Linked DNA regions of Homo sapiens: region 2 is linked to region 1. The links are contacts of gene promoters, found by promoter capture Hi-C in blood cells and fetal thymus (Javierre and others, 2016). All regions are on one chromosome and are shown on one strand. Each heading gives the region's core, a stretch centred on a gene start or on the middle of the fragment in contact. The rest is flanking DNA. Distances are from core to core; before and after follow the strand shown. Region 1 holds the start of PIK3AP1 (phosphoinositide-3-kinase adaptor protein 1). Region 2 has its middle 4.7 kb from the start of MIR607.

Region 1 (5,045 bases), core at 106-2,605:
CGGCCACTAGGATCCTTAAAACTGGAAGAGGGAGACAGAAGAGAGTCAGAGAAAGGGATATGATGACAGAAGCAGGGCCATCTGGCTTTGAAGATAGAACAAGGAGGCCATGAGCCAAGGAATGTGGATGGCTTCTAGAAGCTGAAAGAGCCAAGGAAATTGATTCCCTTCTATTTGGCAGAAAGAAACCCAGCCCAGCCACCACCTTGATTTTAGCCGATGGAGACTCATGTCACACTTCTGAGCTACAGAACTGTAAAATGATAAGTTGGTGTTGTTTTAAGCCACTAAATTTGTAGTAATTTATTATGGCAACAGAAGAAAATGAATGCACGGCCTCATCCTGATATTCCCGTTCTTAAATCCATTTCATTTTATTTCCACCTGGACTTCAGCCCTAACCTTGCCTCATCTCTGCTCTCTGGGTCCATCTTCTGGCCCCTGGATTGTTGAGAACTCCAAGGGGATGTGCTATTCAGTTGAATTTCGGCAGCAGGCAAAGGGAGGAGTCCAAGAAGAGGGCAGGTGAAGGCAAGGGTTAAGCAAGAGTTCTAGCTCTGGAAGCAGACTGGCTTGGTACTGAACCTCCGGGAGCTTTTGTTCTCTGTGGAAGCCTGAGCAAGGTATTTGGCTTGTTTCTTTGGCTCCAATGTAAAGACAGTGATAGGTGCTACCTCAGAAGGTTGCTGTGAGGATGCAATGCGATAATGTGTGTAAGGTGCTAAACGCAGCGCCCAGCAGACAGGAACACAGGAAATGAATGGCAGAGAAACTCTATTAGACATTTATCATGTGACATTATAATTAATGTTCATGTGCCATCAGGAGACCAGATCCAAGGAACGGCAGAAAGATCACAGGAGGGCACTCAAGGGCAACGCCGAGCACCCAGGGCCAGGTGCCCAGCCCTCCTCCTCTTCCCCTTCCTGTCCCCTCCCCTTTCCTGCTGGGGCAGCAGGGGCTTAGGGACAAAGCCCCAGGCGATGAGGAGGTGGCTTGGACAGCTGGTGCTCACACACACACACACCCCCGCCCTGTCTCCCAGAGGCCTGGCAGCCCCACACTCTCCCCCTCCGCCTCCTCCCCACACCCCCTCCACCTCGGGCTGCCCTTTGGTGGCAGATCAGGGCTGGTTTCCCGAGGAGTGGGGCGCACGTGGCGCGAAGCCCCCGCCTTCTCGCTGCCCCTGAGCAGGGGGCCGTGGGGGGAGCTGGCCGGCGGCCGGCATGGGGTTCTCACTTCCCCTCCCCAACGGCCGCGGGTGCAGGTGCCGCGGGCCGAGTCCCGCAGGCGGGGCGGACTCTGTGGACACGCCCTCGTGGCGAGGCCGGGCTGCCCTGAGGGAGGAAGCGCCAGAGCGGCGGCCGGTCCCGCGCGGAGCCCGGCGCCCCTCCAGCCCGAGCCAGGACGCCGCCGGCCCCGGTCCCGGCCCCGGGCACGCAGCGAGCCAGGGATGTGAGCGGCGCCCCGCGGCATGGCAGCCTCAGGTGGGTAGGCAGGCGCCGCGGGTCCCCGGGCTCCCGGCCCCTCTCTCGTACCCCGCATCCCTTGAGGCGCGCTCCCCCGCTTGCTTCTGTTTGCGTCCTCTGTGCGGGGATCTTGCCCTCTTTCTGCTCTTTTCTATGTTCCCTGTCGCAAACTTCCCACTCCAACTTTCCCACGTTTCCCGTCCCAGCCTGTGGCGCGATTCTCTTCAGCCCCTGCCTGGCCCGACCCCCTCCCACTTCTTCAGGGTCTCCTTCGCTCCCTCCACCTCTGGCCCTAGGAGTGTCTGAGCGTCGCTTCCCCTGTCCCTCCGACTCTGAAGCGAGAGGCGAGTTGAGAGAAGCGGAGGGCGGGCGATGTGGATGGTCTACAGGGCCAAACGCGTCTCCTGGGCTCCGTGGACCCACAGGGGGCGCTCAGGCAGTCCTAGGTGGTGCGGAGAGATCAGCCGGGGAGGCCCTTGGGACAGTTCCCCAAGCCCCGTTCCTCCACCCCTCCCAGGCTTTGTGTTTTGGGTCTAGAACTTTGCTAGGGATCTAGGAACACTATTCCTTGAACTTTACTTTTCCTGCGTCCTTTGCAGAACTTTGGGGAATGGGGAGAGTTGGCGGTCACTGGGTAAATGTACTCATCAAAGGGTGCCAAGCGTCTTTTCTGGCTGGTCTTGGGTTGCCTTCTGGTTCATGGGTGTACACACTTGGCAAGTCGCTCACTGACGGAGATCCAGGACAAGCCACATAATGATGATAACGGAGACAATTAATGAGTCCTTACTATTGCACTCCAATGGATACTGTGCACCTAATATGTTCTCCATGGTGGGCAGGAAACACCTAGTCTCTGCTCTCCAGGAGTTTATGGTCCTGTAGAGGAAAGCAATAAGTAAACAAGGAATTACTAGATGAGAGGAGGTAGAGTTACAGTGTTTACAAATGGGTTTACTTGTATTTTCCCAGCCCACTTTATGATGTTTTAGTAGGGATAACCTGTGAAAACAGGTTGCAGGTGCCCCTTGAAAAAGAAAATCTAGGTGGCCAGGAGAAGGCACTGTTCTTACAGGAGGTGAGCAAACACTGGAATGAAGAGCCAGCTCTCCCCAGATCCTCTGAGGGTCTGGTAAGGGTGCTTCGGAAGCAGAGGTAGAAAAGGCCAGGAGTGATTGTTCCATGTACTACAGGCTCATTAAAGGGGATGGGAAGGTAGTTAATCACAGCCTCCTGGCTCTCCAGCTGGGCTCTGGAGGCTAAAAGAAGCTGTGTTGTGAATAAGGAGGCCTAGTAATAGCAGGTAATATACACTTAATAAGGAAAATCTCTGGTATGACATGTGTTATGGGAAAACGATAAAGAAGGGTGAGGGAGACTGGGGTTAGGATTTTCAAATGAGGTGGCCAGGGTGGAGAAAGGCACATTTGAGCCAAGATTTCCAGGGGGAGGAGGCTCTTTGGGGAAGAGTGCTCCAAGCAATGAGTGTATGTGGTGCGTTAAAGGAAAGGGAGTAGGCCAGAGTGGCTGGAGTAGGTGGGCTGTGGGGGAGAGGGAGATGAGGCCAGATAATAAACCAGTGAAGCCGCCTCCTCCTTCCATGGTCAGGAACAGGCCCTGGGCTGCTGAGTCCAGGAAACCGCAAACTGGGAGGGCCTTTGGGTGGAAGAGTCTGAGAAAATGGCCTCTCTTTTCCTCTTTTCCAGCGTCCTGTGTACCTCTCTCCAGTGGACACAGCCGAAGGAGCTAGGAAGGCGAGCTCCAGTTCAGAGGGGGACCCTAGTCCGGTGGGCAAACCTGGGGCTATTTATGGGCTCTGTAGCAGCTTCTGCAGGTGTTTGTAATGGTTAGAGCTGTCAAACTGTCTTGCTGTCTGCGTCTTCTGTGGCGAGACACCACTCCAGGTGCTGTAATTGAGAGTTGGGTCTCTGGAGTCCCTCGGGTTCCCTGAGGTTTGGAAGTACAAGGACCCATGGGGGAAGATCACAGTGGTGAGAGCAATGCCGCTCGCCAAGGTGCTGTGGGCTTTGGAGTCATCCAGCCACCCTTCTGTATGTTCTTCTTTTCTTTTAAAAGCAGCTTTATTGTGATATAATTCACATGCCATACAATTCATCCATTTAAAGCATACAATTCAGTGGTTTTTAGTATCTTTACAGATATGTGTAGCCATCACCACAGTCAATTTTGGGACATTTTCATCACCTCAGAAAGAAACCTTGTATGCTTTAGGTATCAACCTTTTATTCTCCTCTCCTCTCCCAGCCCTAAGATCTACTTTGCCTCTATAGATTTCTCTACTCTGGGCTTGTATATGAATGGAATCACATAGTATGTGGTCTTTGGTGACTGGCTTCCTTTGTACAGCATAATATTTTCAAAGTTCATCCCACTGTAGCTTATATCAGTACTTCGTTCCTTTTTATGGCCTAATTCTTAAATTCCCTTCCACTGAAGGGGAAGCATTAGTCTATATTGTTTTCTGAAAGATGTCTGCTTGTTGAAATCCAGGAGAAGTTAGGCTCCCTGTCTTTGAAAGGACCTTGGGTAGGAAGATAAAATGAAATGGACTTGGCCTATTCCACAAAATTCTCTAGGCCCCTGATGGCATCTTGTGTATTTACACGTGAGAGAGAGGAAAGAGAGGATCCGTGAGTGACTTTCCCAAGTGGCCAAGTCTGTGGCTGGGTGAAGAAAGACTAGTACTCTCTCCTCTGTGTATCAGCTCTCATACCGTCTCTTGCCCCCTCTCTCCAAGGCTCTTCTCTTTAGATCCTTCTACTATTCCTGGACTTACAGGACCATGGAGCTTGAAGGGACTTTTAACCTTTTTGTGACCTTAACTTCCATGTGATCCTTGAGGCCTCTCAATACTCTTGCCAGTACCTAAATTTGAACAACTTCTGGGGTGGGAAGCTCCTGATATGATTGACCACATCTCTCCTTATCCTGGTCACCTTCCCTATCTCTCATCCCTCTTCAAATATGGTGTTCAGATTCAAACATGGGGCTCCAGGATGGATGAATGGGGTGCCAGAGTCACCTATAGGCTGAAGAAATGGTCTGGGCTGGGTGGTTTGAGAAGCTTTCTGGCACTTCCTGTCTGTACTTCTCTCCAGTGAGTTTTTTTTTTTTTTTTTTTGAGACGGAGTCTCACTCTGTCACCCAGGCTGGAGTGCAGTGACACGATCTTGGCTCACTGCAAACTCTGCCTCCCAGGTTGAAGTGATTCTCGTGCCTCAGCCTCCCGAGTAGCTGGGATTACAGGTGCCCACCACCATACTCAGCTAATTTTTGTATTTTTAGTAGAGACAGGGTTTCACCATGCCAGGCTGGTCTTGAACTCCTGGCCTCAAGTGATCTGCCCTCCTTAGCCTCCCAAAGTGCTGGGATTACAGGTGTGAGCCACCACGCTCGGCCCTCCATTGGGCTCTGAATCCTGCAAAGGCACCTCTCTTTCAGCCCCAGCTTTTCACCCCATGGACTCCCTGCTGCTACAGCCTCCCCTTCCTCTGCTGTGATCCATTTCTTTCTCCTTCTGTAGCCAAACCTGTTCTTGACGTTTTACGAGGACAA
Region 2 (5,469 bases), core at 1,239-3,738, 100 kb before region 1:
TGGAGTTATGGCAGTAACCCCTCTTAGATGCTCCTTTTTGACATGGACAGAGGCTCCCCCAGTGCTGTTCTCAGTAACTCCTATTACTGGGAAGCTGAGCCCATTGAGATGTCTGACTATTGCTCTGTCCTAGATTGTGTGAGTGGGCCAGGCTTAGTGCCACCTCTGGAGTTACTTAGATGGAGAAAGAGGAACTGGAATTGGATGCATGTTAGCCCTCAGTGTAGAGGTAAAATTGTTACTGGTGTTAAACAAGGCTGGCTTTGGACTTTTCCAAGCTCGTTAGCTGCCACTGTCCTTCTCTGTACCATAGGACTGGGGCTGGTCCAGAGCTGGCCTAGGCATGTAAATTCCTCCCTACCTAGCATTCCTGGCCTCTTTGGAGTGAGTGAGGGCTCTGTCCAAGGCAGCATTCTGTCATGGGCTAGTTATGGGCAAAGGGCACCAACGCCTTCCCTACCTAGTGTCAGATGGGAGCCTCTGAGTGAAGAACATTGCTCGACAGATTGTTGATGGAGGGGGCTTCTGGCATCAGAAGTCTTTCTTTCTTTTCTTTTCTTTCTTTCTTCTTTCCTTCTTTCCTTCTTTTCTTTCTTTCTTTCTTTTTTTTTTTTTTTTTGAGACAGAGTCTCACTCTATCACACAGGCTGGAGTGCAGTGGCACAATCTCAGCTTTCTGCAACCTCCACCTCCCGGGTTCAAGCAGTTCTCTTGCCTCACCCTCCCAAGTAGCTGGGATTACAGGCACCCACCACCACGCCCAGCCCGGAAGGTTTTCTTACTATCATTTAAGGAACTTGATGATATTAGCTTTTCTACTATCTTTAGAACTTAGTACCATTACAAAATAATAAAAGAATAAAATGTACACTTCAGGGGGTTTTCGTATATTCACAAAGTTGTGCAACCATCACCACAATCACTTTTAGAACATTTCATCACCCCAGAAAGAAACCCTGAAATATCAGCAGTTATTCATCATTCCCCATCTCCTCACCCGCTGGCAACAACAAATCTAGTTTTTTCTTTTTTTTTTTTTTTTTTTTTTTGAGACAGAGTCTCGCTCTGTCGCCCAGGCTGGAGTGCAGCGATGCAATCTCGGCTCACTGCAAGCTCCGCCTCCCGGGTTCACGCCATTCTCCTGCCTCAGCCTCCCGAGTAGCTGGGGCTACAGGCGCCCGCCACCACGCCCGGCTAATTTTTTGTATTTTTAGTAGACGCGGGGTTTCACTGTGTTAGCCAGGATGGTCTCGATCTCCTGACCTCATGATCCACCCGCCTCTGCCTCCCAAAGTGCTGGGATTACAGGCGTGAGCCACCGTGCCTGGCCAAATCTAGTTTTTTCTCTATGAGTTTTCTTATTCTGGACATTTCACATAAATAAAATCATGCAATATGTGATTTTTTTTTTCTGACACAGTCTTGGTCTGGTGCCCAGGCTGGAGTGCAGTGGTGCAATCTTGGCTCACTGCAGCCTCTGCCTCCTGAGCTTAAGTAATCCTCCCACCTCAGCCTCTGGAGTAGCTGGGACTACAGGCATGTGCCACCAAGCCTGGCTAATTTTGGAGGGATTTTTTTTTTTTTTCTTTGCAAAGACAGGTTTCACCATGTTGCCCAGGCTGGTCTCGAACTCCTGGGCTCGAGTGTTCCGCCCACCTCAGCCTCCTCCCAAAGTGCTGGGATTATAGGCATTAGTCACTGTGCCCAGCCAATATGCGGTATTTTGTGACTGGCTGCTTTCACTTAGCATGTTTTTAAGGTTCATCTATATAGTTTTTTCATAGCAACCTGTTAAACAAAGGTTGATCTATGTTGTAGTATGTATCTGTATTTACTTTTTATTTTTATTATTTGAGATGGAGTTTCACTCTGTCGCCCAGGCTGGAGTGCAATGGCACTATTTTGGTTCACTGCAACCTCTGCCTCTCGGTTCAAGTGATTCTCCTGTCTCAGCCTCCCAAATAGCTGTGATTACAGTTGTGCACCACCACACCCAGCTAATTTTTGTATTTTTAGTAGAGACAGGGTTTCATCATGTTGGCCAGACTAGTCTCGCACTCCTGACCTCAAGTGATCCATCAGTCTTGGCCTCCCAAAGTGCTGGGATTACAGCCATGAACCACTGAGCCTGGCCTATATCTATTTTTTAATTTTTTCTTGTTAAATATTTCATCATTTAGATACAAAATTTTGTTTATGTATTTCAGTTGATGTATATTTTCATTGTTTTCACTTTTTGGCTATTATGAATATGCAGCTGTGAACATTTGTGTACAAGTTTTTGTGTAGACGTATGTTTTATGTTTATTATGAATATGAATGTGTTCCATATTAATTTTGAAATAATTTCAAGTGACCAAAAAGTTACAAGAATTCTCATGTCCCCCTCACTCAGATTCCCCAAGTTTTAATATTTTAACATATTTTATTTCACTCTCTCTGCATGTACCTACTATATGGTTTTATTGTTGTTATTCTGAGTCTTTTTTTTTTTTCTGCCCAGGCTGGAGTGCAGTGGTGCAATCTCGGCTCACCGCAACCTCCGCCTCCCAGGTTCAAGCGAATCTCGTGCCTCAGCCTCCCGAGTAGGTGGGACTACAGGCATGCACCACCAAGCCTGGATAATTTTTTTTTTTTTTGTATTTTTAGTAGAGACAGGGTTTCACCATGGTGGCCAGGCTGGTCTCAAACTCCTGACCTCAAGTGATGTGCCCGCCTAGGCCTCCCAAAGTGCTGGGATTACTGCCATAAGCCACCATGCCCAGCCTCCTGAGTCTTTATATGAATAATCAGATGAAAAGCTACACACTGGCTACACCGTCATCCCTAAATATCAGGTGTGTATGTCCACTGTCCACTGTTTTCTTTTTCTTTTTTTGAGACGGAGTTTTGCTCTTGTTGCCCAGGCTGGAGTGCAATGGCACAATCTTGGCTCACCACAACCTCCGCTGCCCAGGTTCAAGCAATTCTCCCGCCTCAGCCTCCTGAGTAGCTGGGATTACAGGCATGCGCCATCACGCCTGGCTAATTTTTTTTTTGTATTTTTAGTAGAGACGGGGTTTCTCCATGTTGGTCAGGCTGGTCTCGAACTCCTGACCTCAGGTGATCCACCCACCTCGGCCTCCCAAAGTGCTGGGATTACAGGCATGAGCCACCACGCCCAGCCACTGTCCACTGTTTTCTCATGACTAGACTCAGTCATACATTTTGGTAGGAAACCTACGGAAACCTACAAAGAAAGAGAAGACAATCAGGCAAAGCAAAGCACTCCAAATCTAGATCATCAATTGCATAGCGAATACAGGGATACTCTTTTACATGAATCCTGCTGTCCTTTGCAGGAATGAGAAGTAGCCTTGAAGGGGTCAAGTTGATCTGGAGATGGACACAACTAACCTTTACTTCACTCCTCAGGTAAAATTTACTATATGCACAATTTATTTGAAAATTACTGCTGGGTGTGGTGGCTCATGCCTGTAATCCCAACACTTTGGAAAGCTGAAGAGGGAGGATCTCTTGAGTCCAGGAGTTCAAGACCAGCCTGGGGAACAAAGTGAGATCCCGTCTGTACAAAAATAAAAAACAATTAGCAGGGCGTAGTGGCGTGCACCTGTTGTCCTAGCTACTCAGGAAGCTGAAGGGGAGGGATTGCTTGAGCCTGAGAGATGAAGGCTGCAGTGAGCTATGATCCTGCCACTACACTCCAGCCTGGGTGACCCCTGTCTCAAAAATAAAATAAGGCTGGGCACAGTGGCTCACACCTGTAATCCCAGCAATTTGGGAGGCAGAGGCGGGTGGATCACTTGAGGCCAGGAGTTTGAGACCAGCCTAGCCAACAAGATGAAACCCTGTCTCTACTAAAAGTACAAAATTAGCCTGGTGTCGTGGCAGGTGCCTGTACTGCCAGCTACTCGGGAGGTTGAGGGGGGAGAATCACTTGAACCCAGGAGGTAGAGATTGCAGTGAGTCGAGACAGCGACACTGCACTCCAGCCTGGGCAACAGAGTGAGACCCTGTCTAAATAAATAAATTAATTAATTAATTAATTAATTAATAGAATCACCTACTGACATGTGAGACATCACCTGTGGTGGTCCTGAGCTTTTGGGCGAATTGTGTCCTCCTCATCAAATTTTAATACTTTGTTCTCCCAACATAGAATGTAAGCTATTTAAAGACAAATGTGTTCAGTCTGGCATGATTTTTCTCAGCAGCTAAAGCCATAACTAGAAAAGGGTCTCTCTGTGGATAACAAAAGTTTGAGGACTCTGGCCTATTCTGTATCTAGATGTTATGTCTTCTCTTTCTCTTCCATCTGCTCATTCTTCCATTTTACTCCTATCTTAGACCACAGATGAACAACTTTAGCTTTTCTTTCATTCCTTGGGTTTGAATCCTAACCTCTCTAAACCTCAGTTTGCTCATCAGTAAAAAGGGGCTAATAATACTACCTACCTCAAAGAGTTGTTGTGAGGATTAACTGATATAATCCATGTAAATCATGGATTTTATGGATCCCCCACAAAGATACTAAAACCCTCCCTAAAGCCCACTCCACAGATGCTGTCTCTGCAGATCATATCACCTTTTGACGTGATTGGGTCTTATGGTAAAATCTTGAATTTTTTTTTTTTTTTTTTTTGAGATGGAGTCTTGTTCTGTCGCCCGGGCTGGAGTGCACTGGCGTGATCTTGGCTCACTGCAACCTCCGCCTCCTGGGTTCAAGCAATTCTCTTGCCTCAGCCTCCCAAGTAGCTGGGATTACAGGCATGCACCACCATGCCCAGCTAATTTTTTTGTATTTTAGTAGAGACAGGGTTTCACTGTGTTGGTCAGTCTGAACTCCTGACCTCAGGTGATCCACCCTCCTTCGCCTCCCAAAGTGCTGGGATTACAGGCATGAGCCACCGCGTCCAGCCAAATCTTGATATTTTATCTAATTATAAAATATGCATACCTTTTTCCCCAGGATTTTTACTTCTAGGAATTTAATCTATAAAAATATTTTCAACACATATATAAAGATATATGTACAAGGAAGTTTTCATTGTTGAAAAAATAAAACAAGTCACAATGTCTGCTCATTCAATGGAATGCCCTGTAGCTAGTTAAGAAAAAATGAAACAGGGCCTGGTGCAGTGGCTCACACCTGTAATTCCAATACTTTGGGAGGCTGAGGTGGGAAGATAACTTGGGGTCAGGAGTTCCAGACCAGCCTGGGCAACATAGCAAGACTTCATCTCTATTTTATTTTTTGAAAGAGAATAAAATATACTGTATACATAAATATACAGTAAGATCTACAATACACTTTCTTTTTACCTTTAAGCTCTGTTGGACTTGATACAATACATTTTTAAGTGACAAAAGAAAGCTACAAAATTGCACATATACTTTAACATGGTTGGGTTAAAGATATTAATATATAGCTGGGCATAGAACCTCACACCTGTAATCCCAACACTTTGG

What was found. Contacts are between HindIII fragments. The CHiCAGO score rates a contact against its expected background, and 5 or more counts as called.
Region 2: a contact is called between a fragment that was not itself captured here and the fragment with the promoter of PIK3AP1 in region 1, in 3 of 17 cell types (neutrophils, naive B cells and monocytes). The highest score is 6.1, in neutrophils.

The regions. Positions count from the first base shown.
Region 1 is chr10:96,716,824-96,721,868 of GRCh38, reverse strand. PIK3AP1 (phosphoinositide-3-kinase adaptor protein 1) reads left to right here and starts at 1,355. Exons shown (of 17, transcript NM_152309.3): 1 at 1,355-1,487. The coding sequence starts at 1,475. RefSeq lists enhancers at 764-873, 1,724-1,833 and silencers at 994-1,293, 1,344-1,593. The HindIII fragment of the contact is 16,174 bases long and covers 1-4,556 here.
Region 2 is chr10:96,821,375-96,826,843 of GRCh38, reverse strand. No RefSeq gene overlaps it. Among named protein-coding and RNA genes, the nearest start is that of MIR607, 4.7 kb to the left of the region's middle. The HindIII fragment of the contact is 6,725 bases long and covers 1-5,469 here.